3 separate regions of the Homo sapiens genome follow, and all the other regions are linked to region 3. The links are contacts of gene promoters, found by promoter capture Hi-C in blood cells and fetal thymus (Javierre and others, 2016). All regions are on one chromosome and are shown on one strand. The core of a region is centred on a gene start or on the middle of the fragment in contact, and the rest is flanking DNA. Distances in the headings are between cores, read along the strand shown.

What was found. The method cuts DNA at HindIII sites, captures the fragments that hold promoters and counts their contacts. A CHiCAGO score of 5 or more calls a contact.
Region 1: a contact is called between a fragment that was not itself captured here and the fragment with the promoter of DNAJB2 in region 3, in 4 of 17 cell types (activated CD4 T cells, naive B cells, total CD8 T cells and 1 more). The highest score is 6.7, in activated CD4 T cells.
Region 2: a contact is called between a fragment that was not itself captured here and the fragment with the promoter of DNAJB2 in region 3, in 4 of 17 cell types (activated CD4 T cells, naive CD8 T cells, naive B cells and 1 more). The highest score is 7.8, in activated CD4 T cells.

The regions. Positions count from the first base shown.
Region 1 is chr2:218,700,038-218,704,354 of GRCh38, reverse strand. It overlaps STK36 (serine/threonine kinase 36), which reads right to left. Exons shown (of 27, transcript NM_015690.5): 27 at 1,640-2,489. The coding sequence ends at 2,346. Among named protein-coding and RNA genes, the nearest start is that of TTLL4, 8.6 kb to the left of the region's middle. The HindIII fragment of the contact is 889 bases long and covers 1,301-2,189 here.
Region 2 is chr2:218,717,025-218,721,999 of GRCh38, reverse strand. All of the region lies in intron 1 of TTLL4 (tubulin tyrosine ligase like 4), which reads right to left. Among named protein-coding and RNA genes, the nearest start is that of TTLL4, 8.7 kb to the right of the region's middle. RefSeq lists a silencer at 2,137-2,434. The HindIII fragment of the contact is 161 bases long and covers 2,550-2,710 here.
Region 3 is chr2:219,276,163-219,280,615 of GRCh38, reverse strand. DNAJB2 (DnaJ heat shock protein family (Hsp40) member B2) reads right to left here and starts at 1,250. Exons shown (of 9, transcript NM_006736.6): 1 at 1,098-1,250; 2 at 718-818; 3 at 1-38. The coding sequence starts at 782. RefSeq lists silencers at 926-1,405, 2,647-2,849 and an enhancer at 2,426-3,130. The HindIII fragment of the contact is 26,435 bases long and covers 1-4,453 here.

The sequences.
Region 1 (4,317 bases), core at 496-2,995, 580 kb after region 3:
GCTACAGTGAGCCATGATCATGCCACTGCCCTCCAGCCTGGGTGACAGAGCGAGACCCTGTCTCAAAAACAAACAAACACCAGAATAACAAAATAGATATGGTAGCTGCTCAAGTAGTGATGGAGTACACTGAACTATCCTCTACCTCTGTGTGTGTTCAAACATTTCCAACTGAAAGACAAGATGTTCACAATTGAACTCATTCCCACCCATTATCACTCCACTGCTAGCCTTCCCCATTTTAGTGAATGACAATTCCATTCTTCCAATTGCTCAGACCAAAAACCTTGGAGTCATCCCTGACTGCTTTCTTTTGGTCATACCCTCACCTCCAATCAGTCAAGAAATCCTGTTTGTTCCATGTTCAAAATATATTCAAAATTTGACTACTTTTTTATCACTCCATAGGTATCACCCCAGTCGCCATCCAGGACACCATTGTCTCTTGCCTGGATTATTATAACAATAGCCTCCTAACTGCTTATCCTACTTCGCATTCTCCCCTACTCCCCATAGCCATTCACAAGACCAGAATGAAGAATGATCCGTTTAGGATGCAAGGTAGTTCATAAAATTCTCTGTTCAAAAGCCTGCAATAGATGCCTCCTTCATTCAAAGTAAGAGCCCAAGTCTTCACCAAGGTCTACAAAGCCTACAATATCTGGCCCCCACCATTACCTTCCTGTCTCATTTCCTACTATTCTCCACCTTCTTTACTCACTTAATCCATACTGGTTCCTCATAGCTCCTCAAGCATGCCAGGCATGCTTTCATCTCAGGGCCTTGGCTTTTCCCCAAAATAGGTGCACAACTCACTCCCTCGCCTCCTTCGAGTCTTTTCTCAAGTGTCACCTTCTAGTGAGGCCTACCCTGACCATCCGACTCAGCACTCCTCATCTCCTTTCCCTGGTTTCTTTTTCTCCATAGCTTTTACCACCTTCCTACATACTATTCTTTTAATAATTTCACTATCTCCCCGACCAGAATGGAAACTCTATGATGGGCACTGTTTTATCTCCTGTACCTAGAATAGTATCTGGCATACAGAAAGGACTCAAAAAATATACATTGAACTGAATTGAGATAATCTGGATAGAAGAAAATTATGGTGCTCCCTAGAAAAATATTATTTTTGCTAAAGTATAAACACTGTGGACAATGAAGATGAGGGTTAAACAAAATTTCTTATAAAAATAAGGGCACTTTACTTGTCTTTCATTTCTAAAACAACTGGAATTTAAGGAAGGACAGAAAGGAGTCTCCTCATTTTATGGATGGAGAAATCAAGGCCCTGGAAGCTTGTTCTAAGCCATCCAATGAGTTAAGGTTTTCCAATGCTTCCAGTTAGATTATAATTCTAACAGGTCTGACTAAAAGCCCTTTCTGGTAAATTGTACAATCTTTAAAATAGCTATCCTTCTACAGCAGCTTGGAGTCCCTACACATTAGAACTCCACTAAATATTAAAATTAGTCACTAAGTCTGAGCAACCTAATTGACCGCTCTGTTGAATCTTACCCTTTCCTATTTCAGCTCCACCGGCCTTGACTTGAAAGTAGGTAACCAAATATAGTTCATCTAGGAAGGGGGAAATTGGTAAAGGCAAGAAATGATATAAATAAGCTGCCAGACCAGGATCTTGTGTGAACACGATACCAGCACCTCCAACACCACATAGAAGCTGAAAGAGGGGTTGAGCCTCTCAACCCTTGTCCTGGGAGCTTCAAGTATGGTGAGGCACAACTTTTATTAAAAGAGTTTACAAACAGAACTATTAAACACACACACACATACACACACACATATACACACACACCCCAAAAAAAGATACACTCTCCACGCCCACCCACAGATAGGAATGTTGGCTAAGGGATAATCCCTCAATAACAGGGACTGATGGCATTGATCCCCACAGCCTAGAGCTGAGACAGGCTCTGTCTTCATCACTGTCCTGGGGCCAGCACGTCTAAGGCAAAAACCTGCTGGGAAGATTAAAGGAGCTCCAGAAAGGAAGAGATCTTTCAGGTTGAGGTTTTTCCCTAAGGTCCGTGAGGCAGGTCCCTAGAGTTAAAGGCACATTATTGGAGAAAAGGCCCCTGGATGTAGAGAAGAAAGGACTCTTCTCTGGCACCAACAGCAATAAAATTTACTGGTTGAAAACATCCTGCATCTGGGAGAAGGAAGAAGCTTTATATATAAATCTCTTCTAGTTTCTTGTTCTCAGTTGAGTTGGCAGCTTATCTCTTTTCTAGTCTCTTTAGCTCTCAGTTGAGTTGGCGGCTTGTGTAGTAGAATAAGAAAGAGCTGGCAACCAAAGTTGGAGGCTGGACCGCAGGAATCTGGAATCACATGCTATGGGCTGGCCTCAGGAGGTGAATGAGTTTCCTGCAGTGTTTGGCAGAGGCAGGCCTAGGACTGCTGTGTGGCAGTGACTGATTCCCCAGAGAGAGCAAGGATAGTTTCTCACTGGCACCCAGGGACACCAGTACCTGTAGGATAGAGAACAGATGATAGAACAGAACATGAGGCTCAGAAATGGTGGTGTCTGGGGCAGGTGCGGAGGACTCTCATTTACCCAGGAATTCCCACTCGAGAAGAGGAAGAAAAAGGAAATGGGCTCTTGGGGACTTGGAATAGACTGAATGGCAGAAGAGAAACCTTGGAGATAGGAATCATCAGGACCAGAAGTCTACTTCCATTCTCTTTGGTTATAGACCATGAAACCAAGGCACTAAGGGACACATATACTTGTCCCCAGGAAGACTTGATGAATGCAGCAGTAACTCACAGTAAGCCAAAAGGTCTAATTCCTAGCCTTCAATGCAGACCAGTGAGTTCTAACCTCATTACCACCAAGAATCCCATTAATTATTTTCCCCATGGATTGCACAAGATTCCTATAGGATCTTCACCATCGGCCAGGCAAGGTGGCTCATGCCTGTAATCCCGTACTTTGGGAGGCCAAGGCGGGCGGGTCACGAGGTCAGGACATCGAGACCATCCTGGCTATCACGGTGAAACCCCGTCTCTACTAAAAAAAAAAAAAATACAAAAAATTAGCTGGGTGTGGCGGCAGGTGCCTGTAGTCCCAGCTACTCGGGAGGCTGAGGCAGAATGGCGTGAACCCGGGAGGCAGAGCTTGCAGTGAGCCAAGATCGCGCCACTGCACTCCAGCCTGGGGGCGACAAAGTGAGACTCCGTCTCAAAAAAAAAAAAAAGATCTTCACCATCCTCTCAAATTTCTGCTCTGCATGAACTTCCCAATGCTACCACTTTGAGATGTCATAATTTATATTACCATATGTAGATATCTGTGATTTCCAATGGGCTTTTTTTTTTTTTTGAGACAGAGTCTCGCTATGTCACCCAGGCTGGAATGCAGAGGCATGATCTCCGCTCACTGCAACCTCCTCCTCCCAGGTTCAAGGGATTCTCTTGCCTTAGCCTCCCGAGAAGCTGGGATTACAGGCGCCTGCCACCACACCCAGCTAATTTTTGTATTTTTAGTAGAGACAGGGTTTCACTATGTTGGCCAGGCTGGTCTCAAACTCCTGACCTCAAGTGATCCGCCCACCTCAGTCTCCCAAAGTGCTGGGATTACAGGCAAGAGCCACAGAGCCTGGCCTACTGGACTCTTTATATACTGAAAATCGCGGTCAGGCAGGGTGGCTCACACCTGTATTCCCAACACTTTGGGAGGCTGAGGCGGGTGGATCACTTGAGGTCAGGAGTTCAAGACCAGCCTGGCCAACATGGTGAAACCTTGTCTCCACTAAAAATGCAAAATTAGCCAGGTAAGGTGGTGTGTGCCTGTAATCCCAGCTACTTGGGAGGCTGAGACAGGAGAATCACTTGAACCTGGGAGGCAGAGGTTGCAGTGAGCCAACATTGTGCCATTGTACTCCAGCCTGGGCAACAGAGCGAGACTCCATCTTAAAAATAAATAAGTAAATAAATAAATAAATAAATAATAAAAATACAAAGATTAGCCGGGCATGGTGACAGGCACCTATAGTCCCGGCTACTCAGGAGGCTGAGGCACAAGAATTGGCTGAACCTGGAGGCAGAGGTTACAGTGAGCTGAGATTGCGCCACTGTATTCTGGCCTGGGCAACGAGTGATATTCAGTCTCAAAAAAAAAAAGAGTGGCTCACGCCTATAATCCCAGCACTCTGGGAGGCCAAGGCAGGTGGATCACCTGAGGTTGGGAGTTCGAGACCAGCCTGACCAACATGGAGAAACCTGTCTCTACTAAAAATACAAAATTAGCCAGGCGTGGTGGCACATGCCTATAATGCAGCTACTCGGGAGGCTAAG
Region 2 (4,975 bases), core at 1,381-3,880, 560 kb after region 3:
CTAATTTTAACTTCTGAGTTTTTTAATTTTTTTTTTTAAATAGAGACAGAGTCTCACTATGTTGCCCCAGTTGGTCTCGAATTCCTGCCCTCAAGTGATCCTCTTGCCTCAGCCTCTCAAAAGTGCTGAGATTACAGGTATGAGCCACTGGGCCTGGCTATTTTAAAATAAAAACCTCAATTATTTATGCATTTCTTTGCTATCTGTCTATCTTCCAGAATGAAAGCTTTGAGCACAGGGACTTTTTCACAGAGCTTATGTATCCAGCCCTAGAATGGTAATCAGGGCTCATTAAATATTTGCTGAATAAACAAATGCATCTACAACAGCTATGACCAGCTAAGGGGGAAAAAACTTTTTTCACTCCCTTACATAGTCACTCTTAACACAGTACAGAATATTTCACCTCTGGTCATCAAAATGTGTGAGGCACACACACCAAGGAATGCTCCAGAGGCCACCAGCTGGATATCCTATAATTCAATTCTGACACTATTTACCTAAAGATAGCATCAGATCTCACAGGTTAAGGGCTCAGTACCACAAGGCTGCTTCCACTTCAGATTCCAATTGCAAGGCACAGGTTGTGACCTGTGCTTCTGATTGATTTGCTATAAATTGGTGTTCCCTGGCCAGGCGCGGTGACGCACACCTGTAATCCCAACACCTTGGGTGGGGCGAATCGCTTGAGCCCAGGAGTTCAAAATTAGCCTGGGCCACATGGCAGAACCCCACCTCTTAATTAATTAATTAATTAATTAATTGGGGGTAAATTGAGGTTCCCAAAACCCCCCCATGGGGTTTGATCAATTTGTTAGAACAACTCACAGAACTCAGGGAAACACTTCACTTACATTTACCTATTTATTACAAAGGATACAGATGAACAGCCACATGGAAGAGATACATGATGCATAGGGCAAGGGATGGGGAAAAGGGCTTGGAGCTTCCGTGCTGTTACCGGGAGTGCCAGGTACATTCATGTGCTCAACAATCCAAACCCTGTCCTTTTGGGTTTTTATGCAGGTTTCATTAATAGGCATGACTGAATAAATCACTGGCCATTGGTAGTCAGCTCAATCTTTGGCTCCACTCCCCTTCCCAGAAGGTGGGGGATGGAACTGAAAGTTCCAACCCTCTAATCACATGGTTGGTTCTCTCGGCAATCAGCCTCCCATCTTGAGGCTATTCAGGAGTCCCCAGCTATCAATCATCTCATTAGCATATAAAAAGACACTTATCACTTACAAGTTCTGAAGGTTTTAGGAGCCAGGAACCAGGGGCACACCCCAATTATGTATTTCTTTCTTTTTTTTTTTTTTTTTGAGACCGGAGTCTCACTGTGTTGCCCAGGCTGGAGTGCAATGGTACGATCTCGGCTCGCTGCAACCTCTGCCTCCCGCGTTCATGCAATTCTCCCGCCTCAGCCTCCCGAATAGCCGGGATTACAGGCACCCGCCATCGTGCCCGGATAATTTTTGTATTTTTGTAGAGACAGGGTTTCACCATGCTGACCAGGCTGGAGTATTTCTTATTATATCACAATATCACATCAGCAAAGCCACGAGTTGGACCTATTCATATGAAAAAGGCGTTCCCCTCTTACCACCATCTCCTTGTTGCTATTTTTTACTCAGTGCGTGCACTCTGCCACAGCTGTACCCAACCCCTTCAATAGTGTCTTTCCTCCTCCTGAGGCCAATCCAAAATCCTCCAGTTCTTTCATCCTCCCCCACATCAAATCAATCTCTCTCACAATGTCAACTATTATCTGCAGAAGAGTCATTTTGCAGATTTGTCGTCTCAAGTTTCATGTCTGCATCACCAACTGCCTGTTCCACCTTTCCAAATGCATGTCCAACCACTTCAATCTAGTGTGTCAAACTAGCTCTCCACTCCTGATCGTCCCATTTCCTTGAGTGGACCCTTCTTTCTCCAAATCACCTAAGAGGAAAACTAAGTTATTTCTGACTTTTTCCTTTACTTTATTTCCCCAAAGGGAAACCAGTCATGAAATTTAAGACACTCTGTCTACTTAGCATTCTTCCTCCTTTTATTATTTCCACCATGCCCCTAGATCTGGACTTACTGCAACAGCACTGACTGAAGCATGTGTCTCCAAGGTGTGCCCTTCCTAATTCCACCCTGCAGGCAACCTCCAGATTAATTTTGCTGTATTGCTTCATCAGGTCAATCCCTTTTCAAAAACGGTCCATGAGCACTTACTAAACACTGTGGTGGCCCACCTGCATCAGAATAACCTGAGATGCAAAGTCCTGAGATTCACCTTCAAGAGGATTCAGTTGGTGTGGAGTAGGGCCATGAGTCTGCAGTTTTAACAAGCATTCCAGATGACTGTCATGTGAGATTTCTTAGCTTTGGTCCACAAGACTCCATAGTCGACCCTTAATCTTTTTTTTTTTTTTTTTAAGGCTTATTTCCATTTCCTCCTACCTTGAACTCTGTTATGTGAACTGCGCTGGTCTTACACTAAATTCCTGGAATAAACCTTTCAAATGCCTGTCTGCAGGGCTTTACTCCACTAAGCTTCTTCCTTGTGAATCCTTACCATATTTTATTTACCTTTTCCAGACCCAGCTCAAGACCCACCCTCTCCACGAGCACCTGTTGTGTGTCCCTCTCACGTGATACTTTCCCAAGGCTATCTCACACCACTGTTCACTTACCCTAGTGATATGCCCTATAAGCTTCATGATGGCTTTTATAGGAAATCTCTGGGGATCTTTAACCTCAAATACAGAGCCACGCTGGCAGAAGGGGGTGGGAAGAACCCTGGTCCAGTTTGGCCTCCTATTAGCAATATTGCCCAAGTCTCCTCCCCCAACAACTTTATGGAACACTAAGTCTTCCTAGAACAAAAGTTTTTAAAAAATTGACTTAGAAACGATGGATATGTTCAATGTGAATTATACCTCCACAAAACTGTTAAAAATAAAAATAAAACTTGAATAAAGGGGTAAGAGTGAAGAATAAAAAACTGCAGAAAGTTGTATGGATCAACAAAATGGCCTGAAACATCCCCTTCTATTTGCATGGCTGCCTCAGCCCAGTCTCCAACCCCTCTAACACCAAGTGCAGGACTGTTAAGGTAAGCAGCCTGACTGATGTCCCTGGCTCCAGACTCTCCCCTTTAAAACACCCATTCTCAGGAATCTGAACATCCTACTTTGTCATCTTCATGCAGCATTTGGAAACTGCCTATACAGTTCTGTCCTCCAATCTTTATGGGGTGATTTTGCCTCAAGTTTCCTCCTTAAAGGAGTGTGAATGATTAGTAGCCTATGTTAGAAAATCTATTGCTGGCCGGGCGCAGTGGTTCATGCCTGAAATCCCAGTACTTTGGGAGGCCGAGGTGGGCAGATCACCTGAGGTCGAGAGTTCGAAACCAGCCTGAGCAACATGGAGAAACCCCATTTCTACTAAAAATACAAAACTAGCCAGGCATGGTGGTGCATGCCTGTAATCCCAGCTACTTGGGAGGTGGAGGCAGGAGAATCGCTTGAACCTGGGAGGCAGAGGTTGCGGTGAGCCGAGATTGCGCCATTGCACTCCAGCCTGGGCAACAAGAGTGAAACTGCGTCTCAAAAGAAAAAAAAAAAAGAAAAGAAAATCTATTGCTGCTGTCGCAAACCAACAAGTCTCCAGGGACCAGGCCCAGACCAACTTGGACAAGGTATCTATTTCTAGAGAAAGCAATTATTCATTACCCACTAATTAAATCACTCTCCTACAAGAGAGTGTGGCTCTTGGGAAATGCAGTTTCCCTTTCCTCCTTCAACTAGGTGTTTCCCTCGGTCACCAGGGAAACTCAGGACATCAGAAATGGTTCAGTCTACAGTCCACAAGATCTCTGATGAGATTACCTCAACTGCTCAACAGTTATGTTAGAAGATAGAACTGACAGGCTCACGCCTGTAATCCCAACACTTTGGGAGGCTGAGGCAGGTGGATCACGAGGTCAGGAGATCAAAACCATCCTGGTTAACACGGTGAAACCCCATCTCTACTAAAAATACAAAAGGCGTGGTGGCAGACGCCTGCAGTCCCAGCTACTTGGGAGGCTGAGGCAGGAGAATGGCCTGAACCCGGGAGGCGGAGCTTGCAGTGAGCCGAGACTGTGCCACTGCACTCCAGCCTGGGTGACAGAGCAAGACTCTGTCTCCAAAAAAAAAAAAAAGAAGAAGATAGAACTGACTTGCCTGGAACCAAATAGAGAGGAGTGTAGGAATCACATTAATTTTCTCTTATGAGATAAATCCCAAGCTCTCTCTCCCTAAGGAAAGGTGGAGGAGCAATATATCTCTCCTAAAGCCCTACTAAGAGAGGAAGGTCAAGAATACAGCCTAGTGAGAAGGGTGGGTCCGTATAAGTCAAGATTAGTGAAATTACAGGTAGCTCTTGTAGAGCACAGTTTAGCAATGCCAAACAAGTAAGCAAACCTGAGGAAAAGATACAGGTTATGGCAGCTGGAGCTGAGGGAGGTAAACCTATAAATTACTGAAAAGTGAAACCAGTGGAAGGGTTTATGTAATGGGGTGACTCACTCTCCTGAAGCCTTGCCCTTTATCAGCTTCGGGAAGGAGGCTCTTTCCTCCTTCTCAGGTGGGCTCTGGAGCAGCAGTTCTCAAAGCATGGTCCACAGACCCTGAGGGGACCCTAAGATCCTTTTGGCGGTCCTGCTACATAGAAAATATTTTCATAACAAAACTAAGAGGTAGCTGGGTGGGGTGACTTGTGCCTATAATCCCAACACTTTGGGAGGCTAAGGTGGGCAAATTACTTGGGCTCCAGAGTTCAAGACCAGCATGGGCAACATGGTGAAACCTTGTCTCTACAAAAAAAAAATACAAAAAATCAGCTAGATGTGGTGGTGCATGCCTGTGGTAGGAGGATCACCTGAGCCTGGGGGGTGGAGACTGCAGTAAGCCATGATCATGCCACTGCACTCCAGCCT
Region 3 (4,453 bases), core at 1-2,500:
TTTTGTCTGGGTGCCACTGGAGAGCCTTGCGCCGATACCTGCAGAAAGTGGGTGCAGAGGAGAGAGTCGGGGGACAAATGCAGGCACTTCCCACCCAGGAACCGAACGACCTGTTTTCCCATTAGCCTATCACTGTCCTTTCACCCCCGGGTCCCAGTCCACCCCAGCTGCTAGGGCTGCCGCTGCTGTGATATTTTCATCAAGTTCCACCCTCTCTCCTCCGCCACCAGTGCTGGGACCACATGTACAAGCGGATACAATGCCAGGGTCCCTAGCCCCTCCCTAGGGCTCACTGGACTGGGGCTGCAAAGGTTGGGGCACATGTGGCCTCGAAGAGTACAGGGACACCGGCCCCTCCTCCTCATAGAGCCTCTTTGCACTGCATCTTTGCACTGCAGCCTGAGAATGCCCAAATCTAGGGGGAAGGGGGAGGGGAGGGGAAAGGAGGAGGAGGAGGAGGAGGAGGGGAAGATCAACTGGAGAACAACCCATAACACAGTGCAGCTCCCAGAGGAACTAACTACTTCACTCTCTGGACGTTCTCCTTGTACTCTACCAGGGGTCTCTTTCCTCCCTGCAGGTGTCACTCGGAAGAAGCACCCCAGTGCTTTCTAACGACCTGGTTCCCTCAGACACCTACAGGTGTCACTCTGAAGTGCCCCATGGTGGTGGCGGGTGGAGGGTGAGAGGTCTTCTGTTGCATACGGAGGCACTTACGCCTTCTTGATGTCATCAGCGGACGCACTTCGCGGCACGTCTAGGATCTCGTAGTAGGATGCCATGGCAACTGGTCAGTCGTCAGGCGGGCCTCCTTGGGGCTGCAGAAGAGAAGGAGTCAGGCGGAAAGAACCAAGAGCCCCACCCTGTGGCTGCAGCAGTCCCCCTCCCCGGGTGGCGGAAGGCGCTCCCAGTTGGAAGCGGAGCACACCGGGCTCTGCTTGCGGCCGGTGACTAGGCTCCCTCCGGCAGCCTTATCTGCCCCCGCAGGCCGGGGCCAAGAGCTATCTCGACGCCCAGGCCCAGGAGCCCTATCGGGGCCCCCCAACTCCAGCAGTCCGATCCAGGGCCCCCAGCCTGACCCGGGCCCCCGGCCGCACCTCCTCCGCCAGGAGTCCCGGCCTCCTGCGGCGCCCCGCCCCTGCCCCCCGCCGGGAACCGTCTGGCACCCGCAGCCCGGCTCGCGGCTGCTGCGTAGGACGCGCCCGGCCCAGCTGTGCGCGCAGGCATGCGTCAGCGGTGCGGAAACTACTAGAGACGGGGAGAAGGCCGGCTCCGCCTGTCCCCTGGGGGGGTGGGGGCCTGCAGGGGCTGCCGGGAGAAGAGGGCGGAGCCGGCTATTTTGGGCACACACCAGGACGACGTCAGCCCCAGCTGGGACCTGGGAGACTGCGGCCCCGCCTCCATCCAAGCGAGAAGCGCTCGCACGGAGGCTGGGGCAGCCCACAAACAAGCCGCTCGGCCCCCAGGTTCCTCTGTCACTTTCTTATAAACATGAGCGATGATCCATGCTTACTCACCCACCTCGAGGACTCAGACTCTTCCCTCCCTCCCCCCACCACGGTTCTAACTCCTCCCCCTTCTTCAGCTCCCAGCTCCAGCCCCAGGTCCCCCAGCAGGCTGCCCTGGCTTTCCTGAGTAGGTCAGAACTGCCTTTTACAGCATCTCGTGGCATTTCCTTCATCAGGCTTGTTAGAGCCACAAATTAGCATTTATTGGTTTGATTATTTTTTATTACCATTCACCTCCCCCACTAGAATGTCGATTTCACAGGACAGGAATTGTGTGTTTTTTCTCACTGGTCTATTAGAGCAGTCGTAGGGGTTCAAAACTACCCGTGGGATGAATAAATAATGAACACCTGCAAACCTCTTGTTGACAGTTTTGACACATTTGGGGGAGGTGAGGTAAAGGGGGCCGTACAACGGAATTCCCCAGGTTCAAGTCTTCCCAAACTGATCCTGAGTAGGCCTATTCCACTTCAAAATGCTCCCTGGGTTCAGGCCTCATTGGAGAGTTAGGAAACCTTCCAGAACTGGCTCCTGCTTGATCCCATCCAGGCCAATCCAAAGGCGTTAGCTGAGCATTTTTCTGCATTCAAGATGCTGCCAGGCCGTATAAAGAAGAATGTGGCCCAAGCCCTGCCTTTGCAGAGCTTGAACTTGATAAGATACCAGCCCATCAGTGTAGCCCGCTGGGAAACCCGAGGCTTTGGAAACAGAGTACAACCTGGCATTACTGTGAGACTTGGGAAAATCTCTGAGCACTCTTTTTTTCTCACTAAATATAGGTAGTGCCTAGGGTTGTTTGAAAGTCAAATGAGACATGGTACGAATTAGGTGTTACTGCGGTCCTGCTGGCATCGTGATTGGCTCAAGCAATAATGGTTATGTGAGTCCAGAAAAGTGCTTTAGGCTGGGGGACCCAGGAATACTTCGCCAACGAGAAGGGTTTGAGGCGGACGTGAGAGAAGAAGGTGGTGTGAGTGTCCTGGTTTCCTGGCTGCCCACCATCAGAACCTCCTGCCTACATTTGGGGAATTCCCATCGCAAGGGCCCTAATGGAAAGCAGGCCACCATTTGCCACAAAGCCCCAATGCTTGCTCTCCCTGACTCGGCTCTGGGGTTGCAGGCAGAAGACATGAGCTCCGCCAATCGGATGCTCCAACTGGGACTTTGAATCTGGAGCAAGTCACGGAATAGCAAGGCTGGTTTAGGAATTCATTTCTGCGGCGGCGGTGGAGGCGATGGGGCCAACAGCGGCCTCTAGTGTCTGGAGGAGGAAGTGTCAGCGCTACTGCCGCAGGTGAGGGACGAGAGTAGGAGGATCACTGCGGAGGGTGGAGGGGACAGGAGTCTCCTACACAGGCTGTCCTGTGCCCAACCTTGACTGTGGTACTGGCTGCCCAGCTTCCCTAGGTGCCTGTCTGATTGCTGACCCTTGTTTGCTGGCCCTTGCATTGATTCTGTGTGCTATCCGATATCTCTATAATTGTTGGGGGCAGGGGACTTGAAACAATTTGCCAGTTAGCTTCTGCTGTTTATAAGAGTCCTGACTGACACAAAGACTAAGGGTTAGACTTGGTATAAGAGGAAGGAGTGGTTGGGTTAAGTCACTCCAAATTTTCCAGATCTCTGCCTTTTTCTTCTTACTCTGCTGTGCCAACAGACATTTGTCTAGCACCTACCGTGTATGTCTTGTTATATTAAGAAAAAGAATATAAAAAAGTTTAAATTCCAATCTCTGTGCTCAAGGGGATAGGACATAGACAAATGACAACTGAGGGAAATTATATGGAGCACATCTAGCAGACAAAGGTTTAATTTCCTTTGTCCACAAAGAAATGCCAACTAATGAAAGACAATGACATTTTTAAATGGACAAAGGGACAGGCAGCTCACAGAAGAGGAAATACTGGCTTTTAAACAAATGAAAAGATGCTCAATCTCATTCACAAAAAAACTGTAAACTAAAGCTACGACAGGCCAGGCATGGTGGCTCATGCCTGTAATCCCAGCACTTTGGGAGGCCAAGGCGGGTAGATCACCTGAGGTCAGGAGTTTCAGATCAGCCTGGCCAATATGGTGAAACCCTGTCTCTACCAAAAATACAAAAAGTAGCCAGGCGTGGTGGCACATGCCTGTAATCCCAGCTACTCGGCAGGCTGAGACGGGAAAATCACTTGAACCCGGGAGGCGGAGGTTGCAGTGAGCCAAGATCGTGCCATTGCACTCCAGCCTGGGCAACAAGAGTGAAACTCCATCTCAAATAATAATAATTTTTAAAAGAATAATAATAATAAAGCTACAACAAAATACTTTGGGGTTTTGTTTTTTGAGATGGAGTCTTGCTCTGTCATCCAGGCTCCAGTGCAGTGGCACTATCTTGGCTCACTGCAACCTCCCAGGTTCAAGCAATTCCCCTGCCTCAGCCTCCCAAGTAGCTGGGATTACAGGCATGTGCCACCACCCCTGGCTAATTTTTGTATTTTTTGTAGAGATGGGGTTTCACCATGTTGGCCAGACTGGTCTCAAACTCCTGGCCTCAGATGATCCTCCTGCCTCAGCCTCCCAAAGTGCTGGGACTATAGGCCAGAGCCACTGCACCCGGGCACATGGCCCTAACAAAATACTTTGTTTCACTTATTGGATGATTGACAAAGACAAAAAAAAGAAAAAAGTTGAATACATTGTATGGGCAAGGCTGAGGGCACAGGCATTCTTATAGATTGGTAGTGGGAGGGTGGGTAATTTGATGTGACTTTTTTTTTTTTTTTTTTTTTGAGGCAGAGTTTCACTCTTATTGCCCAGGCTGGAGTGCAATGGTGCAATCTTGGCTCACGGCAACCTCTGCCTCCCGGGTTCAAGCAGTTCTCCTGCCTCAGCCTCCCAAGTAGCTGGGATTGCAGGCGTGAGCCGCCGTGCCCGGCCTGGTGTGACTTTTAAAGAGAGCAAGA